Linked DNA regions of Homo sapiens: regions 2, 3, 4, 5, 6 and 7 are each linked to region 1. The links are contacts of gene promoters, found by promoter capture Hi-C in blood cells and fetal thymus (Javierre and others, 2016). All regions are on one chromosome and are shown on one strand. Each heading gives the region's core, a stretch centred on a gene start or on the middle of the fragment in contact. The rest is flanking DNA. Distances are from core to core; before and after follow the strand shown.

Evidence for each region. The method cuts DNA at HindIII sites, captures the fragments that hold promoters and counts their contacts. A CHiCAGO score of 5 or more calls a contact.
Region 2: a contact is called between a fragment that was not itself captured here and the fragment with the promoter of C6orf52 in region 1, in 1 of 17 cell types (non-activated CD4 T cells). The highest score is 5.4, in non-activated CD4 T cells.
Region 3: a contact is called between a fragment that was not itself captured here and the fragment with the promoter of C6orf52 in region 1, in 1 of 17 cell types (total CD4 T cells). The highest score is 6.6, in total CD4 T cells.
Region 4: a contact is called between a fragment that was not itself captured here and the fragment with the promoter of C6orf52 in region 1, in 4 of 17 cell types (activated CD4 T cells, naive CD8 T cells, total CD4 T cells and 1 more). The highest score is 7.6, in activated CD4 T cells.
Region 5: a fragment that was not itself captured here is called in contact with the fragment with the promoter of C6orf52 in region 1 in 1 of 17 cell types (naive CD4 T cells); the score reaches 6.4 in naive CD4 T cells.
Region 6: a contact is called between a fragment that was not itself captured here and the fragment with the promoter of C6orf52 in region 1, in 1 of 17 cell types (non-activated CD4 T cells). The highest score is 5.9, in non-activated CD4 T cells.
Region 7: a fragment that was not itself captured here is called in contact with the fragment with the promoter of C6orf52 in region 1 in 2 of 17 cell types (naive CD8 T cells and activated CD4 T cells); the score reaches 9.0 in naive CD8 T cells.

Annotation. Positions count from the first base shown.
Region 1 is chr6:10,693,297-10,696,463 of GRCh38, reverse strand. C6orf52 (chromosome 6 open reading frame 52) reads left to right here and starts at 1,848. Exons shown (of 5, transcript NM_001145020.3): 1 at 1,848-1,970. It overlaps PAK1IP1 (PAK1 interacting protein 1), which reads right to left and starts at 1,492. Exons shown (of 10, transcript NM_017906.3): 1 at 1,395-1,492. The coding sequence starts at 1,478. RefSeq lists enhancers at 1,465-1,844, 1,274-1,876, 1,885-1,934. The HindIII fragment of the contact is 16,030 bases long and covers 1-3,167 here.
Region 2 is chr6:8,421,616-8,424,794 of GRCh38, reverse strand. It overlaps SLC35B3 (solute carrier family 35 member B3), which reads left to right. Exons shown (of 10, transcript NM_001370479.2): 4 at 2,171-2,325. Among named protein-coding and RNA genes, the nearest start is that of SLC35B3, 12 kb to the left of the region's middle. The HindIII fragment of the contact is 4,738 bases long and covers 1-3,179 here.
Region 3 is chr6:8,090,976-8,094,097 of GRCh38, reverse strand. All of the region lies in intron 2 of EEF1E1 (eukaryotic translation elongation factor 1 epsilon 1), which reads left to right. The region is part of intron 2 of EEF1E1-BLOC1S5 (EEF1E1-BLOC1S5 readthrough (NMD candidate)); the gene reads left to right. Among named protein-coding and RNA genes, the nearest start is that of EEF1E1, 10 kb to the left of the region's middle. The HindIII fragment of the contact is 8,691 bases long and covers 1-3,122 here.
Region 4 is chr6:8,110,898-8,114,152 of GRCh38, reverse strand. No RefSeq gene overlaps it. Among named protein-coding and RNA genes, the nearest start is that of EEF1E1-BLOC1S5, 9.9 kb to the right of the region's middle. The HindIII fragment of the contact is 3,104 bases long and covers 420-3,255 here.
Region 5 is chr6:8,128,615-8,132,045 of GRCh38, reverse strand. No RefSeq gene overlaps it. Among named protein-coding and RNA genes, the nearest start is that of EEF1E1-BLOC1S5, 28 kb to the right of the region's middle. RefSeq lists an enhancer at 655-704. The HindIII fragment of the contact is 1,330 bases long and covers 1,355-2,684 here.
Region 6 is chr6:7,912,601-7,916,109 of GRCh38, reverse strand. The region is part of intron 4 of BLOC1S5-TXNDC5 (BLOC1S5-TXNDC5 readthrough (NMD candidate)); the gene reads left to right. Among named protein-coding and RNA genes, the nearest start is that of TXNDC5, 3.6 kb to the right of the region's middle. RefSeq lists an enhancer at 3,048-3,197. The HindIII fragment of the contact is 5,683 bases long and covers 1-3,509 here.
Region 7 is chr6:8,440,872-8,444,457 of GRCh38, reverse strand. All of the region lies in intron 2 of LOC100506207 (a long non-coding RNA gene), which reads right to left. Among named protein-coding and RNA genes, the nearest start is that of SLC35B3, 7.1 kb to the right of the region's middle. The HindIII fragment of the contact is 154 bases long and covers 2,112-2,265 here.

The DNA of each region.
Region 1 (3,167 bases), core at 599-3,098:
TCCTTAAACTGAAGGAACTGCATCAAAAAGTATTTGCAAAACAAACCGAAAAAGAAAAAAACCCATCAAACTTCTTTGAACATGTGTTACTGCAAATCAGGTCCTTAGTTACAGAAGATACTCCTTCCATCATTTAAGACCAAGGGGGCCTCCTTTGAATCAAGCATTTTTGCGGGTCTGCTATGGCCTTAAATCAAATAATAACCTTTTAAAATTCACATAATGTAGGTTATCTAGGCTATTGCTTAGATTTAGTAGAAGTATAGGGTAATGGTTAAGAGTTTCAAATGTCAGAGACCCTCGGGGGCTCCTGACATTTTGGGGTCAGCTGTGTCAATTATTATCTGTGTGTCCTTCAGCAGTCACTTAACCTATCTAGGACCAACATTTTGGTACTTCATCTGCAAAACGAGAATAACTGCATCCTCCTCAGAGGGTTGCTGTGAGGACTACTGTGTGTCTGGAACACAGTTAAGTAATTTCACTACAAAAAAAAAAAATTAAATAGCATCATCTTTGACTATTCAAAACACATCACTTTTCAGCCAAAGACAAAGAGCAAATAACTGGAGTAGGAAACAAAATAAACGAAAGCAATAGGCCAAGTGATATACTTCCAAATTTTCTGGATAATTAAAGACCGACGCCTTGACTTCATAAAGAAGTACTGTACTCAATTTTCTAGAAAATGCTTAGAATTGCTTCAAGAATAAAAGTGAGCTAGATGTTAGGAGGTCGGATTCCTAGTCGTGAGTATAGTCCTATCTACCTATTTGACTACTGATAATTTATTTGACCTTTTTATCTATTCACACATCTAGTAATATCATATTCTGCTGTAATTTCTCTCCATCTATGCGTCTCCTCAGTCCTCCACCCCTTATGTAGGCAACGTCTCTAAGGCAAGATCCATACCTCCAGCATCTTTGCATCTCCACCGCCCAGCTCGCCATAAGTTCCCAACAAATAATGAATTGGTATCGCTTTACCTATAAGGGATTTATCCTAATCTAGTTCTAGTAATTTGTAAAATTCCAGGGCAGAAATTCAGCAAAAGAGCGAGATCTTCTTTCATTAAATTCTGAATACTGTCAACTTATGGGATCGATCCTTAAATCCACAATCTACGACTCATTTGTCCGTATGCAGAAATGCCGGTTTCCTTTGTGTCCCGTGGACCTTTTGTCTACTAGAAAAGGCAGATATTGCCTCATTTTGATAAAATGTCCATTCTACGGTTTAAAAGGTTAGCTTTTCTCTTAAGTCTCTTAGGTTTGATTCATCAAATCATCCAGTGAACAGCAGGCGCTCCAATGTTCACCTCTGCTGTGTAGGAACCAAACCCGACCTTCCCGGCCCCGCCTCCGACTGTCTCTAACTACGCGGTATCTCACCTCGTGGTCGCCGCAAGCCTCGGGCTCCGGGTGTACAGCGAACCCAAAGAGGACCTGCTCGTAGCAACCAGCGACCAGCTCCATTCAGCAGCGCACGTGCCTCTTCCGCCAGCCCGGCTCAGCCTGGAGGTGACAGAACCGGAAACCAAAAAAAAAAAAAAAAAAACACCTGACTCCTTTCTGCATCGGCGCTCGAATTATACGTCAGGCTCCAGGGCTGCCTTTAAGTCGCCTGTAACGTGGAAACACTTTAAGCGCGGGGAGGTCACATGGATTTTCCAAGAAGAGAATAAGTAAAGATGCCACATGAGGAGGTTCTCACTGCAAGGAGAAAAAAATCGGGGGCAAGCAGGCATATCTCAGGAAGGTGCCAGCTACGCCCGTCTGAAGGGAGCGGGCGGGACATCCTCTGCGAAGCCCTTCATTTCCGTGACATCAGGAGGAGGTGGGGCCGACTTCCGGCCGGTTGCTTAGGGGCTGTAGCGCCGGCAGCGTGCATTGTTGTGGGCTGTGTACTAGTAGGGTAGGAGTTTTTGTTCAGGGACCAGCGGAACGAGGCTTTCTGTCGTTAATAGGGTAAGGAGGGGTGGGATTAGGGTTCGCGGTGACTTGTTCCAGCGGCGCAGCGCTCGCGCTGCCTTGACGGACTCGGAGTGCTAGATGTGTCCGCGTTCCCGTCTGCCCGGGCCAGAACCCCAGCCCTGCACACTTTCTCTGTCTGCTTGTCTAACTCTGGGGCTGTATTGGCCAAGGTTGCGGCACCTCCTGGGGAGGGAGCAGTGAGCCTTCATTTTTTTTTTTTTTTTTTTGAGACGGAGTTTCGCTCTTTTTGCCCAGGCTGGAGTCCGGTGGCGCGATTTCGGCTCACCGCAACCTCTGCCTCCCGGGTTCAAGCAATTCTCCTGCCTCAGCCTCCCGAGTAGCTGGGATTACAGGCATACGCCACCACGCCTGGCTAATTTTGTATTTTTTAGTAGAGACAGGGTTTCTCCATGTTGGCTAGGCTGGTTTTGAACTCCCGACCGCAGGTGATCCGCTTGCCTCGACCTCCCAAAGTTGCTGGGATTGCAGGCGTGAGCCACAGCGCCCGGCCAGAGCCTTCATTTGAGAGTTGGGAAAACAAAGTGAGCCTGAGCAACATATTTTGATGCCGTCTCTACAAAAATGTTATAAATTAGCCCAGCATGGCGACGCCCGCCTGTGGCCTCAGCAACTCGGAAGGCTGAGGTGGGAGGATTGCTTGAGCCCAGGAGGTCGAGGCTGCAGTGAGCCGAGATCGCTCCACTGCATTCCAGTCTGGGGGACGAGCCAGGCCCCCTTTCAAAGAAAAAAAAAGTTTTATTTAATAAGGTTTAGAGATTCAGGTATGTCTTAGACATTACAGCTTTCCTACAAGCTCCCAACAGAGTAAATCTTGGTTCGTATAGTTCTCATAAACACCGTAGTAGGTCATTTGGTAAACAAGATGCATAGTCCATCCTTCTCAAATCTTCAGCCTCCATTTCAAGTGCGATACAGTGCTTCAGCGCTTAGACCCTTTTGTTTCCAATAACTTTTCTTCTCTGGTGTTCTGAATTGTTAGTACGTGTTAATAGAGGCTAGTTTGGGTCTTGCAGAAATGATTTCATTTGGGATGCTTTGGTTGTCACTGCAGTGCAGAAAAGACCTTGTTATTGTTAGAAATAGATAATTGGTGACACGAAGAAAAGTCAGCATGGAGACAAAAGATCTCTCAGCAAGGCAATTTTTACTTTATGCAGAAAGGGTGCTCAA
Region 2 (3,179 bases), core at 581-3,080, 2.3 Mb after region 1:
TTACATCTGTCAAGACCTCAGAGAAGTTTCTATAATACTCTAAATTTTATCTTGAGGCTCATATGTGGTAATGCGTGCTAAAGTACATCATAAACTGTAATATCCTAAATATACTGCTTATTATTTTTCATCAAAGAATACCTTGTAACATTATTATTAATTAGTATAAGTTTCTAATTAAGGAGAGTGCTCAGATTTGTCTTGAAGAGGTTTTTAAAGTTAAAATTTTCTCCCCGGCCAGGTGCAGTGGCTCACGCCTGTAATCCTAGCACTTTGGGAGGCCGAGGCAGGTTGATCACCTGAGGTTAGGAGTTCGAGACCAGCCTGGCCAACATGGTGAAACCCCGTCTCTACTAAAAATATAAAATTAGCTGGACATGGTGGCGGGCACTTGTAATCCTAGCTACTCAGGAGGTCAGGAGGCTGAGGCAGGAGAATGGTTTGAACCTGGGAGGCGGAGGTTGCAGTGAGCCAAGATGGCGCCACTGCACTCCAGCCTGGGCAACAAGAGCGAGACTCCGTCTCAAAAAAAAAATTTTCTCCCCATTTCTAAGGAAGCAAGCAATTGATGTATTAAATAAAATAGAAATAGTGAGTATCCTGGAGGCAAGCTGATCAAATCTAATTTCTTCATTATACCAATGAGAAAACAAAGACCTAGAGGACTGCTCAGAATTTTTTGAGCTCCTTTTGGAGCTACTTTTGGATTTAGTTCCCCTGTCAGGCTGGTTTTCTTTCTACCTGTACTGTGCTACTTTTCTACTCATTCCTTGTAATTCTTCTGACTTGAATTTTTATTTTCTGCCAATGATTTGCCATTTATCTTTGAGAAAATCTGACCACCTTGACTTGTATCATTTTACCTGGCGAAGTGGTGCTCCACCATCACTGATGATATCCCAATGAGGGTCAAACCCCATGGATGGCATGAACGCATTTACACTGATGCATATGGGCATGCCAAGTTGTTTCCACGTGGATTTTCATGGTTAACTACTATATTAGTAGTTAAGTAGAAAAAAACCCCTCAGAATCGAATGTAAATGATGCATTTTAATTGACTTTTTCCAGTAAATTATTTTACCTTATATCTAACCATATATAAGATGAGAAATTTTGTTGCCTTGATTTCAATGTGAACACAAATTCTAAAATGGAAATTACATCTAACTCTCCAGCATTATCAGTATGAATAGTGCCTGATTGTGTCTGTGTTCGTCATACCAGTAGACAAGATTATTAGTTTAGACCATTAAATATCTAGTCAAAGTGAGCATATGCTCACAGTAATGGCTCAAAATTCTGAAGATGCTAAATTAAGAATCTCCTTTAGGAACTTTAGATAGAGCCAAAGTTAAAAGACTTGAAATCATGAGAGAGTCAGATACCTCATCTTAAAAGTTGATTATTATAACATAGAATATAGAGAGATGATCTATAAGATATTATAATAAAAATTACATCTAGGGTTTTAAATCACATGAACTTTTCCTAGAGAAAATCTTGGGTTATTTTAGCAGAATGGATAGATGTATTTTTCCTAATGCTAGATGGAAACATTAGGAAACAGAACAACAATTCAAGAGTTAAAAATTAGTTTTAAAATGTTAAGGTACCTTTTACCATTATGGAGGCCAACATTAGCTGGGCATGGTGGCGCACACCTGTAGTCCCAGCTACTCAGGAGGCTGAGGCAAAAGAATTTCTTGAACCCGTGAGGCAGAGGTTGCACTTAGCTGAGATCATGCCACTGCACTCCAGCCTAGGCAACAGAGCGAGACCTTATCTCAAGCAAACAACAACAAAAGAAGCTCTTTTTCTCTAACTTAAGATGGTTAAGATGGTTTTTATTTGTGGCTAGAACTGCTGTTAAAAAAAAAAAAAAAACCTTTTGTCAACATTTATACCTTCAGTAAAAATCTAAACTCTTTTTTACATAATTGAGTGGCCTCGTTTATGATTGACTAAATAAAGGTAAATTGTTATTTTTATAAACTTTTTTATACAAGAGCATTACAGTTTTTAAATAGTGATATTTTTTACTGATATTTCCAGAAATAGTAACCAGAAATTAGAAAAGTAATTAGACATTTACACAATGTGAACACATTATCTTTTAGTAGTATGAATTGGGTCCCAAAATGAAGGTTTTAAAAATTGTCTTTTACAGAATACCAGGAAAAACCTACATGATAATAGCTTTTCTAACTGTGGGTACTATGGGGTTATCAAACACTTCCTTGGGCTACCTGAATTACCCTACCCAAGTCATCTTCAAGTGCTGCAAATTGATTCCTGTTATGCTAGGAGGAGTTTTTATTCAAGGTATAGTAATGATATGTTTTTATACTATTTAAAACTAATAGGCTATGTTATGGCATCTAGCATTAGGAAAAACATTAAACTTCTATTACATTTTCAATGAGCATTCTAGATATTGTAACAATTCTGAATTATGTCTTACCAAAATAAGGTATTCTAAAAACACTGATGGCCAGGCACAGTGGCTCACGCCTGTAATCCCAGCACTGTGGGATGCCAAGGTGGGCAGATCACAAGGTCAGGAGTTCGAGACCAGCCTGGCCAATATGGTGAAACCCTGTCTCTACTAAAAATACAAAAATTAGCTAGGCATGGTGGTGTATCCATGTAGTCTCAGCTACTTGGGAGGCTGAGGCAGACGAATTGCTTGAACCCAGGAGGCAGAGGTTGCAGTGAGCCGAGGTCACACCACTGCACTCCAGCCTGGGCGACAGAGCGAGACTCCATCTCAAAACAAACAAACAAACAAACAAACAAACACTTATATGCCTTAGTTTCTGAAGTCAGTAATTTGGACTTAAGAAAAAGAAAAGATAATACTTTGTTTTTATTATTTTATTTTGGAATCTACCACATTTCCAGCAATACTATATTTACGTATTAAAGGTCTAGTTCAAAAGTACGTGGAAAGGTCCCTTTTTTCAGTTCCTTCATTCTTCTACTCTCCAGGGGTCTACCCTTCACTTCCATTGTGCATGGGCAGTTCTCATATTGAAGTAAAGTTTAATCTGAGCAGAACTGCGTTTTTACCAACCTGCTGGCTTTAGTGATGTTTAGAGCCCCAGCTAAGTGACAAGTTTTGTGGAAATACGAGTAAAAGAGGAGGCAGTGATAGCAACAAACAGTGGAAGTAGCTT
Region 3 (3,122 bases), core at 560-3,059, 2.6 Mb after region 1:
GCCGCATGCGGTGGCTCACGCCTGAAATCCCAGCACTTTGGAAGGCCGAGGCAGGCAGATCACTTGAGGTTAGGAGTCCGAGATCAGCCTGGCCAACATGGTGGAACCCCCATCTCTGCTAAAAACAGAAAAATTAGCTGGGCGTGATGGCACGCACCTGTAGTCCCAGCTACTCAGGAGGCTGAGGCAGGAGAATCACTTGAACCTGGGAGGCGGAGGTTGCAGTGAGCCAGGGTCACTCCACTGTACTCCAGTCTGGGCAACAGAGCGAGGCTGTGTCTCAAAAAAAAAAATTATTTGCTTTTTTTTTTAATACAATTATTAATGTGTCGTTTTCATACTGCTTATTAGCTATTTTATTATTTTTAAAAATTCACTTACATGTATTCCTTGCCTGTGTTTGTACTGGGCTGTATAGGTTTTTATTATTTATTTTTAAAACTCTTCCTTTTAGGATATTATGAAAGGGTTTAATTCTTATTTGTCAAAGTGCCATTTCAGTGGTAAAACCATAAAACCACAATGCTAAGTTTAAATGCCTCATAAATAAGGTAGTATATAATTTCAAAAAGCAGGCATTACAAAACACTAACATTTGTTGAGTCTAGATGGAGGGTATATAGTTGTTTATTTTACTGCTTTTTCAACTTTTTTGTATTATTAGAAAATTTAATAGATGGAAGGAAAAAGAAAAATCAGGTGGAATTGTAGGGGAAGTATTTAACAGTTTGACAATGGCATCAGAAAGAATTGTAAAAAAAAAAAAAAAAAAAGGAAGCGAATGTCAGACATAATTAGTTCTCATCTGTGAATATTTTGAATGTGTGTGAAACTCTGTCTTTTGGTAGTAAAGATTTTATTTATATCATGAACCCAGAAAATATTACCTAATCATAGTTTATAAAAACTACATTTTTAAGAGTCTTGGCCGGGCACGGTGGCTCACGCCTGTAATCCCAGCACTTTGGGAGGCCGAGGCAGGCTGATCACGAGGTCAGGAGTTTGAGACCAGCCTGGCCAACATAGTGAAACCGCTGTCTCCACTAAAAATACAAAAAATTAGCCAGTCATGTTGTGTGCCTGTAGTCCCAGCTACTCAGGAGGCTGAGGCAGGAGAATCGCTTGAACCCTGGAGGCAGAGGTTGTGGTGAGCCCAGATCACGCCACTGTACTCCAGCCTGGGCAACAGAGTGAGACTCCATCTCAAAAAAAAAAAAAAAAAAAAAAAGCAGTCTTTATCACTAAAACACAAAACACGGATATAGATTCTGTTTTTGGAAAAAATATACAAAACTGTTATTGTTTCAGGTCTTTAAATACTTCTTGAAATTAAATGAAGATGTATTTATTTTATTTGAAATTTAATGAAGATATTTTATTTCTTGTACTTTCTCAAAGTTGATTTCTCTGAAGATATTTGGAGAGAAATCATCTCCATTCAACAGAGTACCATAAAATTTAAGTGGTAGTCCCTAATATACCAATACATTCTACCCTTTCCAGCCAAATTTTATTTTGATTCTTCCATGCCTGTCTCATTTGTGTCCATATTCCTTTATGTTCTTATCTGTACCACCTTTAGGGGCTCATATTCATATACCATTTTGAAAATGACTGACTGTCTTTAAATGAAAATCGTCAGAGAAAATGTGTTTACTCTTTATTAAGTGGAAGTAGATTATCATAAAGGTCTTCATCATTATCTTCATGTTGAGTATGTATCATGTTAACTTTGTTTGCAAACTCAAAGAGATTAAATTCAATTCTGCAAACATTTTTTATTGATTGCTGAACCACTATATTCTGCAAACATTTTTTACTGATTGCTGAACCACTATATTCCAGATACTTTGGGATGTTGCTATGGTCTGAATGGTTGACTCCCCCTCCCCAAATTTATATGTTAAAATTCTAACCCCCAAAGTTATGGAGTTAGGAGGTGGGGTCTTTGGGGGTGATTAGGTCCTGGAGGCAGAGCCTTCATGAATGGAATTATTGCCCTAATAAAAGGCCTGAGAGAGACCTCACCCCTTCCACCAAGTGAAAAGACAGCTGCCTGTGAACCAGGAAGCAAGCCCTTACCAGACACTGCATCTGCCATCACCTTCATCTTAGACTTCCAGCCTCCAGAACTGTGAGGAATAAATCTCTTTTGTTTACATGCCACCCAGTCTATGTATTCTATTATAGTTGCCCAAGTGGACTAAGACAGATGTGATTTGAGAATCGGAACAAAATGCCCTCTCTATAGTTTAAGGAATTCTTCTAGAATAAATGCTGTTCATCACTGGACAGTTTTTTATATCTAGTCCTTAGAGGAGCCTCAAAGAATATTTAATAATAGTTCATATAACTCATTTACAAAACCTTTCTCTGAAGGTTTTATGAATCTGTTGTTTCACTTAATTGACTATAATTCAATGTAAATTCCTGTTCTGCTAAATTAAGTGTTAATTTTAAGAGAAGCCAACATTTTCCATCTCAGGAAATTGACGTATTCATGCTGTTCTGCCAGAAAATACCTCTAACAAAAGTAAAAATAGATAAATTGGACTATGTCAAAATTAAACATTTCTGGACACAATCAAAGGAGACAACAGAGTGAAAAGGCAGCCCATAGAGTAGGAGAAAATATTTGTAAATCATATGTTTGTTAAGGGGTTAATATTCAGAATATGTGAAGAACTCCTACAGCTCAGCAACAAACAAACCCAATATCCTGATTTCAAAAGTGGCAAAGGACTTTAGTATACATTTAGCCAAAGAAGATATACCAGTGGCCAGCAAGCATATGAAAAGATGCTGGAATCACTAATCATTAGGGAAATGTAGATCATGTTTACAGTGAGATATCATCTCACACCCATTAGGATGGCTACTACCAAAAAAAATCCCACAGAGCAACACAACATGTGTTGGTGAGGATATGAAGAAATTGTAACCCTTGTGCATTGTTGGTGGGAATGTAAAATGTGCAACTGCTATGAAAAGCAGGAATAGCACTTCCTCAAGAAATTAATGGAATTACCATATGGTCCAGCAATTGTACTTGTAAGTATATACCCAAAAGAATTCAAAGCATGGTTTTGAAGAGATGTTTGTACGCTCCTGTTCACAGCAGC
Region 4 (3,255 bases), core at 722-3,221, 2.6 Mb after region 1:
CTGTAATCCCAGCACTTTGGGATGCCAAGGCAGACGGATCACGAGTTCAGGAGATCGAGACCATCCTGGCTAATACGGTGAAAACCCGTCTCTACTAAAAATGCAAAAAATTAGCCGGGCGAGGTGGCAGGCGCCTGTAGTCCCAGCTACTCAGGAGGCTGAGGCAGGAGAACGGCATGAACCCGGGAGGCAGAGCTTGCAGTGAGCCGAGATGGCACCACTGCACTCCAGCCTGGGTGACAGAGCGAGACTCCGTCTCAAAAAAAAAAAAATTATGCTACATCTACTCTTGTATGGACATACTATGTTTATTCATTATCAGATGATGGACATTGAGTGGTGTTCACTTTTTGGCTGACCCTTATATTGCCCATAAAATAGAATTTGGGGGACTTCAGGCATCATCCAATCCAGAAGCTTCTAAATTTGTTTTTAGCAGTGGCACTGTTCTTTAAAATAAATGTTCTCATTGCTGAAATTGGGTAATCAGTAATAAGGGTTCATTATGTTATTATCCCTACTTGTGTGTATATTAATTTTCCATAGTATTTTTAAAAGATTACATTGAAATTTAATATGTAAAGCAGATTGAATGTATGTAGTTTAAAACTGCAAAGTATTCTTCCAATATTTTGCATACTTGCAACGAATCATTTCCAAAGAATCTTGGCAGATGATCTCCAATTTCTTAAATACTTGCAATGACAAAGAGTACTCTAACTTTGAGGCAGTCACAGTTGGATAGCTCTGTCTGTGAGAAAATAATGTTTATATTGATCCAAAATATGCGCCTTATAACTTCGAGTGGGAATCAGACAATTCCTCCACCATGAAAGTATTTTTATCTTCTTTATTTTTATTTTATCTAGTGCCTTTTCAAAGAATGCCAAATAGCTGGCAGAGTTTGGTATTCTGTATCACACTAACATATGCTACACAGTCTGCTTGAGAGATGTTAAGGGCTACGTTCCCATCTTCTGGGTTAAAAAGATATGAGCAAAATATTTAAGCAAAATTAAGATACCTGCAGGCAAAATCTGACGAAGTGTTGCACATTGTGCTACATAATAGACTGAGATTTTTTTTTAATATCATGGTTCTCCCCAGTTTCACCTGCCTGTCAGCTCTACATCATTTGTTATTAATTTAACACCAGAGAACCTGGGAAAAGCTGCAAGCCAGTGAGCATACACAAATCAGGCACAGAGATGGCAAGTGCTCCTTGGAGATGCTTGTTCACAAACTTTAAGGGAATTTGAAAAATGCCCACCAATTTGCAGGATGCTTGATATGAAATCAAAGAAAGTAGAGAAACGCAAGTTACAACTGCCTGATTTGACTGCAGAAACTGACAGTAAGACAGGAGCAGCTAGGTCATCTGCAGAATTCCACGCAGCACTGTAGGAACACACCTCTCTCCTCCTGACTCCCTTGGCATCTTCCTCCTTAATAACAAGGGACCTATTCCCAGCATCAGCTGATTCTAAGACACACACATCTATGTGCATCTCAGCAGGATGAATTGGAGGAGGAAGGGCATCTAGTTTGCAGACTCATTTTTACAGCAGTACCCCTTCACTGAAAATTACTTTGGGCCGGCTGAGAGTGGTGGCTCATGCCTGTAATCCCACACTTTGGGAGCCTGAAGGGGGTTTGGGGGGGGCTGGATCACCTGAGGTCAGGAGTTCGAGATCAGCCTGGACAACATGGTGAAACCCCGTCTCTACTAAAAATGCAAAAATTAGCTGGGTGTGGTGGCATGGCCCTGTAATCCCAGCTACTCGGGAGGCTGAGGTGGAAGAATTGCTTGAACTTGGGAGGCAGAGGCTGCACTGAGCCGAGACTGTGACACTGCACTCCAGCCTGGGCCACAGAGTAAGACCCTGTCCCCAAAAAATAAAAAAATAAAAAAAGAACTACTTTGGACCCTACAGTGAAAATTTATATAAAGCATGTTTGTGCCCAGTTAGCCAAAGCCCAGTTTCAGATGAGTAGTCTTCATCCCAATGTTCAAATGCCATTTTAATCTCAAAAAAAGCCTGAAAGCAAAATTTTTCAATGTGAAAAAGACCCTCATCTACTAAAGTTCCTCATAAAAGTCCATCTACTTTCATCAGTATATGTATTATATATGCTAGTGCATTTATATAAGACAAATAATGTTGACCATATATATCCACATTCGCTGAAAGCCAAGGATTAAACTTAAAAATTGGCACTGATCATAATGTTGCAGCAACTGACTAAATGCTCACCAGACCACTTCCCTCTTCTTCCCATATCCATCAGGTTTCCTGCAGGAAACAGAATCTAACTCTGATGTTTCAAGAGGCTCTAAAGAAAGGACTAGATATAGAAGCATGGAAAGGATTAAGAAAATCAATCCGGGAAGTTGAGGTGCCCAGGGACTAGCGAGAATAGAAAGCCATTACCACTTCTAGGTTACCAACTGCTCTCAGATAACACAGCCTGTTTTCTGGTCATTCCACCAATAGGGTACAGACTTCCTCCCAATCAATAGATCAGATATGGAGACTAATGACCCTCCTTCATGCACCAAGAGGGTAAGAAAGAAAGTCTATTACTAACACACAGAGCACTTCTGGGGAAGGGCAGGTGCAAGCTGTCATGAAGCTGTGGGGTTCAAACATCAAGAGGTCAGGAGCTTGGGGTGGGGAGTTCCTTACATGAAGTCCCAGATGTATGATGGTGGGCAGGGCAAGGGTGGATGGAGGCCTAAATGCTGTGAACAGTCAAACATCACAAACGGAGTCAGACTCTACTGCACAGCCAAATGCAGGAAGGGAGAAAGGCAATAAATACTCCAAACTCATGCTCTCCAATCTCTTAACTGTGCCTCTCACACTGAACCTATCTGGAAGCCAGAAGGTAGGAGACTCTGGGTAATGTCATCCACAGACTCAGTCTTCTGTGTCAAAGAGCAGGGCCAAGGAGAATGGGAATAAAACTGGGGCACAGGTGCAGAATAACAAGCAGACTGACGGATCAGATCACTTCACTCAGCCTCCCTTTAGCCAGGTGTGTCTTCCTGACTGAGTTTCAGCCAATGAGATCTGGACAGAAATGATGTGCAACATTTTCAGACCTAGCCCATAATACCTAGTGTAGTCCTCAACGGTCTCCCTCTTGCCTCATCTATAGTTCAAATGACAAGAGCCTAGGGCCCAGAAAGGGACTTTGAAGCCTTAGAGGATGATGAAATCACTAGACTGGAAGTCTGAGTTCCCAAGTGAC
Region 5 (3,431 bases), core at 770-3,269, 2.6 Mb after region 1:
CTGCAGTGAATTCCAAAGCACTTCTCAGCTTTTATTCTCGAGCTTCTCCCATACCAAACCTCCATAATTTGCTAAAACTTGGTGACTGAGAGACTGATTTGAAATCCCCTTTTCACCTGGGACTCCTTGATGGTCCAAATAGATGAAGGGCAGGTGGCAGAAAGGACACAGGAAATGAGAAGCTTGGAAAAGGCACTGCTTGGTTAATCAGCCCCTTATAGATAGTGCTGAGTTCGTAGTACCTAACAAGATGTAACGGAAGCTTATTGCATAGGAAAAAGGAGCTGACGGATTATTAGCCTGACACTCTCCATTTGCTAAACGTACAGAACAGATTCATTACCTTTGTCCCCCCGCCCCTTAACAGTATGGGTTTGATTGCCCTCTTGCCTACAGGTAATTCTCCATCAAAATTAAATCCGTCCGCTAGTTCTCAATTTTATAAACTATGCAGGCACAGGGAGAGAGGAGGTCGGGCGGAGGCTCGTGCTGGGTGGGAGGAAGGTTACCTTTCCCAGGGCCACAACGCCAATCCAAAATTCTTCTACTCCTAGAGCTCTGAAGATGCCTGTATTCACGGTCCCATAGTGACACCAGCTGGTCAGATTCCAAAAAACAGCTTAGATGGAGAGGAAATGGCTCAGCCCCCTGCACCGTGCTCAGATGATAAATATACAGCCCTGGCCTCTTGACACTCTGCCTGTTCCAGTTTAAATGACATATGCCATATAAGGCATAAATACATTTATAGAATAAATACACAATACAAAAATGTGTAGATACTTTGGCTGTTACAAGCTCCTCTTCTCTTCCCCAAAAGATCAATGACACTGTTGATGCTTAATTGTCAACCACCATTTTCCTCCCTAGCAATTACACACCCAGTCCTATGAGCTGGCGCAGACTAAATCAGGGGAGGTCCTTGCCAGTTTACCAAGGTAGGGAAGGTTCGCCATTGGGAGAGAGAATGAGGCCTGATGTTCAGTTTGTATGTGACAGATGGAGAAGACGGATTGTGAAGACCAAAAACACCTCTAGATTTGTCCATTTCAGAGCTGCTGGAGCTCCAGAGTCTCTCTCCTGTGAAGACTTCTTCCCCAAAATGCGGCCTTGGCGATGTATTCACGAAATATTCATTTTGGCTCCTGATTTTTTATTCGTCATCTTGTAGTCTTTTTCTTTTCCTTTCAGGAAAAGGCTTCTTCAAATTGTATAAGCTTCAGACTTTGAAAAGCTGGGATCCATACCTGCAATAATGTATATACTAGATGTACTGGTACAAACGTTGGATACCTACTATATCCTCAGCACTGTGCTGGGTGCCGGGACATGTGCAGGAAAGGAGCAGGAAGCTTCCTACTCGATCAGTTAACCACACCAGCACATAAAATAACTAGCCAGCGTTGCAATGCAATATGTAATCAAAGACTAAATTGTGTAATCCAAATTATGTGCACAGTAGCCTGGAAATTCACAGGGGGAAATAGAGGTTATTAAAGGATGTGAAGCAATTCTGGAATGCTTCACTGAAGAAGTTTTAAGTGGAGCCAGAAAAGTATGGGAGAAAGGAAAAAGAAGTAACTAATCAAGGGGGAGAAGGGGGAGTGAAAGCCTCGAGGTGGAAATGAGGTTGTTTTGTTTTGTTTTGTTTTGTTTTTTTGAGACAGAGTCTCACTCTGTTGCCCAAACTGGAGTGCAGTGGCATGATCTTGGCTCACCTCCACCTCCTGGGTTCAAGCAATTCTCCTGCCTCAGCCTCCTGAGTAGCTGGGATTGCAGGCTAATTTTTGTATTTTTAGTAGAGGCAGGGTTTCATCATGTTGGTCAGGCTGGTCGCCAACTCCTGATCTCATGATCTCATGATCCACCCGCCTCGGCCTCCCAAAGTGCTGGGATTACAGGTGTGAGCTACCACACCTGGCCAAGGGAATTCGGTCATTTTTAGTGAGGAAGAATGAGAGCAGCTTGACAGAACCAAGCTGCACATTGGAAAGTAGTGGGAGACATTGGACTGAATGAGATGGGAATCCAGCTACCAAGGACAAGGACAGCCCCTCAAGAATTTTGACTTGACTTTGAGATCTCAAGTGAGAAAAACCACACAAAGGTAACTCTGCTGGCATTTTACACAATGATTACGCACATTTTTCTAATAACTTGCTGGAAATAGAATGAGCATTGCAGCACCATCGGACAGGTGCCTTACTCATTGGAGATGTCTGGACAGTGCTGTGATCATCCTCGCCAGCTGCAGCAATAGCACCCTGGGTCCTGCAGCCAGAAAGAAGGATCTGATCATCACCTCGTCCTCATGCTGTGCTGAGGAGCCTTGGTGCACAACTATTGGCTCGTTTTGGGCAGGACAGGTAAGTCCCAGCTGCAGAGCTTATGACACACAATTTTTACCTAAACTTCTAACTTTTATCCACGATACCTACTCCCCTTTCACTGCCTTCCTAACTTCTTGGCTCTTAGAATGTCCCAGCTTCATGCTCTTTTTAAATACCTGTATAAGAAATCATGTCTTTAAATAAGTAGAGGGTGCTTTTCGTGTTACCATGTAAAGGTTTTGAAATAGCCCCTGAAAAAGACATAAATATCTCTCTTAGCAGCCTATCAAAATGCCAGACTTCTCGGCATTTCGTGTCATTTCCTGTGGATTAACCCAATATCAATGTCAAGCTTCTTGAAGACAGAAATGATGCCATTTCCTAGCATTTCCCAATGCCTCGAATTTGCCTAGCAGGTAGGAGTTGCTCCATAAATGTTTGTCGGATGGACCGATAGATGGATGGATGGGTGAGTGGGTGGGTGGGTGGATGGATGGATCTTTGGTTGGATACATTTAAAGTAAAATGAAACATCCTGGCTAACACGGTGAAACCCCATCTCTACTAAAAATACAAAAAATTAGCCGGGTGTGGTGGCACGCGCCTGTAGTCCAAGCTACTCGGGAGGCTGAGGCAAGAGAATTGCTTGAACCTGGGAGGCAGAGGTTGCAGTGAGCCAAGATTGCACCATTGCACTCCAGCCTGGGCGACACAGGAAGACTCTGCCTCAAAAAAAAAAAAAAAAAAAGTATAATGAGAAACTGGAACTATGTATGTGTTGGTTCTGATAGGCGTGGACCCATCCCATTGTCATTGTTGTCAGGATCTGGATCAGCAAGACATTGGCCAACTGGGACAAAGAGAAGAATAAGACTCAAAAACTGATGGGAAGAACCAAATACTACTGAAGACCAACTTCACTGCTCAAAGTGGCCTGGTGCCAGTCCTTTTCAGGAATTAAATGAAACTGCAGCTTCACTGAACCACCTCACAATTCCATTTGCAGACAGGAATGCCCCAGCAGATCCCAACAGGATGCTCACCCCATGGAGGGACAGAGTGGGTTGATCCAGCCCACTAATAATGCTAACATTTCTACAG
Region 6 (3,509 bases), core at 151-2,650, 2.8 Mb after region 1:
ATTCAATCACCTCCCACCGGGTTCCTCCCACAACACATGGGAATTGTGGGAGTTACAATTCAAGATGAAATTTGGGTGGGGACACAGCCAAACCATATCAGGTATTAAATGCCTGCTGTGTACCAGACATCACGTAAACACCTCTCAGGCCATGGGGCTTACAGTTTAGAGGGAAAGTCCGAGGCTAAACAAAATTCACACAACCAAATAATTACCCTTCTGTGAAGGGATATGGGGAGAAAGGACAAGATATTAGTGCAGGAAGCCTAACCCCAGCTGGAGGTCAGGGAATTTTTTACTGAGAACATTGTATTATTTCATCGCTGTACACAAATTCAGTTGTATCTTCACTTTTAGGCTTTCTGAGCTGGAAGCCACGCTGCTTGGCGATGGGAATCTAAGCAGGACCATGTGTGGCTGCTACCATATGAAGCAACATGTCAGTCCCTTGGGAGGGCTGGGAGTTCAGAGGAAGTGACGCTGAGCAGCCTGTGTGGAGGGGTGGCCGGGTCATGCAGGAAAGGCCGCATGTGAGAGAAGGTGCCAGGCACAGTGAGTCAGTTTGTTTTGGTGGAGCCTGGGAAAGAGATGTGGTTAGAAAGAGGGGTTCCTTCATCCAACACTTGTTGAGCCTCAACTGTATCCAGGCATTTGGGTGCTAGGGAGAGAGAAGTGAATGTGGCAAATAGCCCCTGGCCTTCGGGGAGCTTATTGATGGAGAAGACGGCCACCTTAACCAGCTAAGTCTGCAACAAAATGGCATCAAATGACAAAAAGTGTTATGCAGAAATTAAACAGCATGGCACTGGTGAGAGCTCAGTGGGCAGAGGGAGGCTGCTGCAGAGAGGGGCTTTGACTTGTCAATGTGGAAAGGCAATCGCCAGGCACTGAGGAGGTGGCGTGGGGGCAAGAGACCTGAGGGTGCAGGGAGTCCAGTCACAGAAGACAGGAAGGGAACAAGCACAGGGCACCACACACAAGGGCCTGAGAAGGGGAATGCTGGGAGGGTATCTAGAATCATCCCTAATGGCTAGAATCTAGGCGAGCAGAGGGCAGAGTGGTATGGGTTGAGATTGCATCTTTCCTGAAGGCCCTTGCAAGCCAAGGCAAAGAGCTGGAATTTGACTGTATGTGAAGGGAAGCCCCTGAAGGAAGTTAAGCAAAGGAGTGACACGATTCAATTCTAGCTGCTGGATGAAGGATGGATGGGAAGGACTTAAGAGTGGAAACAACATTCAGGAGGCTACTGTAGCAGACAGGAAGAGAAGGATATGGCAGCAGTGGAGAGATATCAGTCAGTGGGAGCTGTGGCTCAGAGATGGCAATGATTGGACTTGCTGATGGGGAGATCGAGTAGGAGGCGGGGATCAAGGCACTGCAATAAAGAAAAAGGGTAACAAAGTTTACAACTCAGAGGTCGGGGGTGGTGGCTCACACCTGTAATCCCAGCACTCTGGGAGCCTGAGGCAGGCAGATCACTTGAGGCCAGGAGTCTGAGACAAAGTTTGCAACTCAGGTTTCTGGTTTGTGCAACAGCGAGGAAGAACTATTTACTGAGGAGGGGAAATCGGAGGACAAGCAGATTGCTGCAGGGAAGCACAAGGTCAGCTTCAGCACACCTGCAGGACAAACAAGAGGAGGCATCCTGTAGATAGTGAGAGCTCAGAGAGAGGCCTCGGCTGCAAATGTACACTTTGGCAGCAGCATATAGATGGTGTTAAAGCCATGGCTATGGATGAGATCACCTAGGGAGTGATGCAGAGAAACAAAAGTGGGTTGGAGGCTGAGCGCTGAAAACTGACATCAAAGGTTGGGTTGAAGAGACTGAGGAGTGACGTGGGGATGGTAGGAGGTAGATCAGAGAAGCAGAAAGGACGGTGGATGCAGATGGGGCCAATGGCAGTTGTACCAACGCTGCTGAGAAGCCCAGGAAGATGAGGAACATAAAGTGTTCATTTGACTTGTCAATGTGGACATCTTCAGTGACTTTGAGAAGACTTGGTGTGTGGCAGGTTTGAGAGTCAGAGTGGCATGAGCTGAAGGATGAATGGAAAGTGAAATACAGATAATTTTTTTTTTTTTTTTGCTTATACACTGATGAAAATGGTCCAGTAGGAAGGAGTGATGAGTAACTTGTGCAGGAGAGAAAGAGAGGAGCTGAAGAACAAAGCCTTTGAGCAGGGAGCAGGGAGGGCATATGAGATTCCTAGGGCTGCTGTAACACCACACTCTTGGTGGCATAAAACCACGTACGTTTATTCTCTTACAGTTTTGGAGGTCAGAAGTCCAAAACCAGTTGCACTGGACTATAAATTGTCCACAGGACTGCAGGTCCCTCCAGAGGCTCTGAGGGGGAGTCTATTTCCTTGCTTTTTCCAGCATCTAGAGCTGCTTTTCCTGGCTCTTGGCCCCTTCATCTTCCAAACCAGCAGTTTAACATCTTCAAATCTCTTTCTGCTTTTGTTACGTCGCCTCCGGCTGTGTAGTCAAATTTCCTACTGCCCCTCTGTTATGAGGACACTTGTGATCACATTTAGGACCCACCGAGATAATCCAGGGTAATCTCTCCAGCTCACGACCCTTAATTTAATCACACCTGCAAAGCCTTCTGCCATATAAAGAAACAATCAGATGTTTCAGGAATTAGGACCTGGTTATCCGTGAGGGGCATTATTCTGGAGGACTGGGCTTTGCTAGGCAGGGATATACTGACTTGCTCCTTTGTGGGCAGAGGGAAAGGCGCCTGTGCAGGGGTGTGTAGATTTGGCGGGGGAGGGATAAGGGAGCTCATGCTTTTGGCTTCATTTTTCTCAGAAACATGAGATAAAGCTGGCAGCTGAGAGGATGGCGACTGACAGGGTGGGGTGGGGAGAGGAGAGGAGGAGCAGTGTCAGTGGAAGTATGGAAGCATCTCAGAGAGTGGGGCAGCACACTGCCTAGGCAGAGGTAGTCAGTTTTAGGGCAGGGGTGAGGAGGAATTTAAGGCTTATTTTTACCAGTGTGAAGGAGACATGCGGCTTGACTGTGCGATTTTTCTCCAGCAGAGTCTGGCTACCTGGTTGAAGGCACAGGGAACCCAGAGAGACAAAGCTCACCAGCATCTGTGGGGAGAATGTGGCAGGGCAGGAAGTGAAGGGTGAGACTCCATGGGCTGTAACTTGGCCAAGAGGCAAGAGAAGACATAGCAGTCTGTTGGGCTGCGAGGGGATTGTAGAAGATGGTGGGGTGGGTAGCTCAGAGGTCATGATGAGAAAGAAGCATTGCAGAAATGGGTTTCTTGAGCAAACAGTCGAGGAGGTGCTGGGCAGAGTGGATGCCTTCAGATTTTGGAGATGGTGCAGATGCTGGTGATGACAAGTGCTAGGGTCTCCCTTTTGGGTGTGAGTTACTGAGGGAAAGGTAGATGGAGCATCCACCTGGATGCTGAAGATGCCAGGAATGAAAGACAGGAAAGGGGTGGCCAGGAACACTGTGAGCCAGGAACCAAAGTCTTCACTGAACCAGGAAGA
Region 7 (3,586 bases), core at 939-3,438, 2.3 Mb after region 1:
CCTAGAACTTAAAGTATAATAAAAAAAAAAAAAAAAGGAGATTATCCTGGATTATCTGAGTGAGCCCAGTGTAATCACAAGGATCTTTAAAATGTATAAGAGGAGGCGGAAGAGTCAGTACACACTGAAGCCATGTGAGAAAGACTCAAATGGCTTTGCTGGCTTTGAAAATGGAAGGGGACAACAAGCCAAGGAATAGGGATAACCTCTAGAAGATGGAGAAAGAAAGAATATGAACTCTCCCCTAGAGCCCCTAGAAAGTGATATAGGAGTTAAGAAGATATCACTTAGGCAGATAGTAAAGGTATGGGAATCCTCAGTAAGGCTTTTCTTTTTAATGAAAAGCAGCCCCAAATCATTTCCTAGCAAAGAGCAGCCTGTAAAGTCAAGCCATAGACACAGAATAGATAAGCAAGCTGGGAGCGTCCCTGGGTGAATGACGGCAGGAACTAGGGACTAGTACCATGTTCAAGATGGCGGCTCCATCTACCCTTCTCTACCTTACGTGTACAGTAAGGAGCAGACAAGATGGCACTGGCCAAGGGGAGAGTTCATTTGCATAAGATTACGGTGGGGCAACCAGTCTTCCCCTTGTGCTATGTAAACATCATACCTGATTGAACCAATCTGTAAGCCCCACTAAATCAGACACCACCTCCTCAAACGGGACTATAAAATCTGGCACATTCACTGCCAGCTGGTCTTTTCTGCTCAGAAGACCCCTCTCTATAGAGAGAGCTGTTTTTCTTTCTCTTTTCTTCTGCCTATTAAGCCTCCACCCCTAAACTCTTCATGTGTGTCTGTGTCCTAAGTTTTCCTGGTGCAAGACTACGAACCCCAGGTATATACCCCAGACAACATAGCCGCTTCAAAAGGAATGCAGCACTGTTGACCATTTGATTACATCCCAGTGAGGCTCATTATGTTTGTATGTAATGTATGTATGTATGTATTTAGTAGAGATGTTACTCTACTCTACTCTCTATGCTACTCAGGCTGATCTCAAACTATTGTCCTCAAGCTATCCTCCCACCTCAGCCTCCCAAAGCTCTACGATTATAGGCATGAGCCACTGTACCCACCCAAAACCCACTTTGAAATTCTGTCCTATAGAACTGTAAAATAAAAAAACTGTGTGGTCTTCAAGCCACTAAGCTTGTGGTAATTTGTTATAGCAGCAATAGAAAGCTAATACAGTTACTTATATACACAAGACGGACCAAAGTAAACTAATACAATTAAACATCCCTAATCTGAAAATCTGAAATCTGAAATGCTCCAAAATCCAAAACTTTTGAGCACTGACATAATATCACAAGTGGGAAATTCCACACATAAGTACTTAACACAAACTTCGTTTCATGTACAAAGCTATTAAAAATATTGTTTAAAATTACCTTCAGGCTATGTGTATAAGGTATTTATAAGGCATAAATGAATTTTGTGTTTAGACTTGGGCCCCAGCCTCAAGATATCTTATTATGTATATGCAAATATTCCAAAATTTTTAAAAAATCTAAAATCTGTGAAACACTTCTGGTCCCATACATTTCACATAAGAGATACTCAACCTCTAGAAAGGACGGAGAAAAAGAAATAGTGATAACAAATAATTAGAGTTTTATTGAAAGGAAAAGAAAGGAGGAGGGAAAATACTGATTTGTGAAAGAAACTGAGTTCACACTTAGGATGACTACAGGGTTATATCACTGCATCCAATGTCGCTAACAAGCAGTTTGAAAAATGAGAATAAAGCATAGGTGAGCAGTTAATTACACAGATATAGAGGACAAGTCCGTAATCTTAAATTAAATTGATTTCCTGAAGAGGAGTTTATACAAAAGATCAGGAAAACAGAGACTGAAACATGAACATTTTGAGGACAGGACAAGGAACAGTGAGGTAGGAGAACCAGTCAGTGCAGCAGTACAGAAGTCAAGAAAGAACAAAGTTGCAAAATGCAGCTGGTTCTCAAAAGTTCTAATTGCAGCTGTAGAGAACAGGCCTAATAAATGTTTATTTAGGTTGAACAATTAGTGACATAAACCCTTCAAGACTTCACAGTAGAGGAGTGGAGGAAGTTAAATGCTTATCTTACGTAAAAACAAGCTTTAGCAGTTCCCACCCACTTGCTCCTACATCCCTGGGAGCCATCTTTATTTTTACTCCACACCCACCTGGCCACAGAATTTAGCCTTCTTTAAATTCATCTGAAATAATGCACCTATGCAGGGCATTAATGAACAATGCAGATTTACTGAAGCTTTTTAAGAATATGAAGTGGTGGAATTATAAATCACAGCCTCCATAAAACAACTTAAATACTCCAGTTAGATACAGAACCTATAGTCTCCCAAAAGCTCCCTTCTCAGCCATACCACACTGGTGATTCCCTTTATTCTCTCCCTCCTTCATTTGTTTGTTCTTTCTTTCTTTCCTTCTTTTTTCTTTTTTTTTTTTTTGAGACAGGTCTCACTCTGTCACCCAGGCTGGAGTGCAGTGGTGTGATCTGGGATCACTGCAACCTCCGCCTCCCAAGCTCAAGGGATCCTCCCACCTCAGCCTCCTGAGTAGCTGGGACTATGGGCATGCATCACCACACTCAGCTGATTTTATTTTTGTTTTGTTTGTTTGTTTGTTTTCTAGAGGCAGGGTTTTGCCATGTTACCCAGACTGGTCTTGAACTCCTGGAATCAAGAGATCTGCCTGCCTTGACCTTCCAAAGTACTGGGATTACAGGCAATGTGAGCCACTGCGCCCAGCCTGGATTTTCTCTAGCACTTTAAACTTCATCACCTTCCAAGTGGTGAACAAGAATTAAAGTGCTCTAAAATTCCATTGTCCTGAGTGGTAGATAGTAGTCATATGTGCTACTCTGAGCACTTGAAATGTGGCTGGTCCAAACCAAAATATGCTGGAAGTGTGAAATACACACTGGATTTCCAAGATTTTGTATAAAAAAACAGATGTTAAAGTATTTCATTAACAACTTTTTATATTGATTGCATGTTGAAATGATAATATTTTGGTTATATTGAGTTAAATAAATATATTATTAAAATTAATATCACCTTTTTTTTTTTTTTTTTTGAGACAGAGACTCACTCTGTTGCCCAGGCTGGACTGCAGTGGCATGATCTCAGCTCACTGGAACCTCTGCCTCGCTGGTTCAAGCCATTCTCCTGCCTCAGCCTCCTGAGCAGCTGGGATTACAGGTGCCCGCCACCACGCCCTGTTAATTTTTTTTTATTTTTAGTAGAGATGGGGTTTCACCATGTTGGCCAGGCTGGTCTTGAACTCCTGACCTCAAGTGATTCGCCTGCCTTGGCCTCCCAAAGTGCTGGGATTAGAGGCATGAGCCACCACACCCGGCCTCATTTCACCTTTTTAATGTAACTAGCAGAAAATTTAAAGTAGCTTCCATGGCTTATATTATATTCCTATTGGACAGCACTGTTCTGGAAATAAAAAGAACTTCATGTTAATAAGACTAACCCTCCATGGAAGGCAGTTTAAGAATAATCTTCTAAGAGGCTAATCGAATTACTTCTTACAAAAAGAAAACAAAACACAGAAACTTTGACCA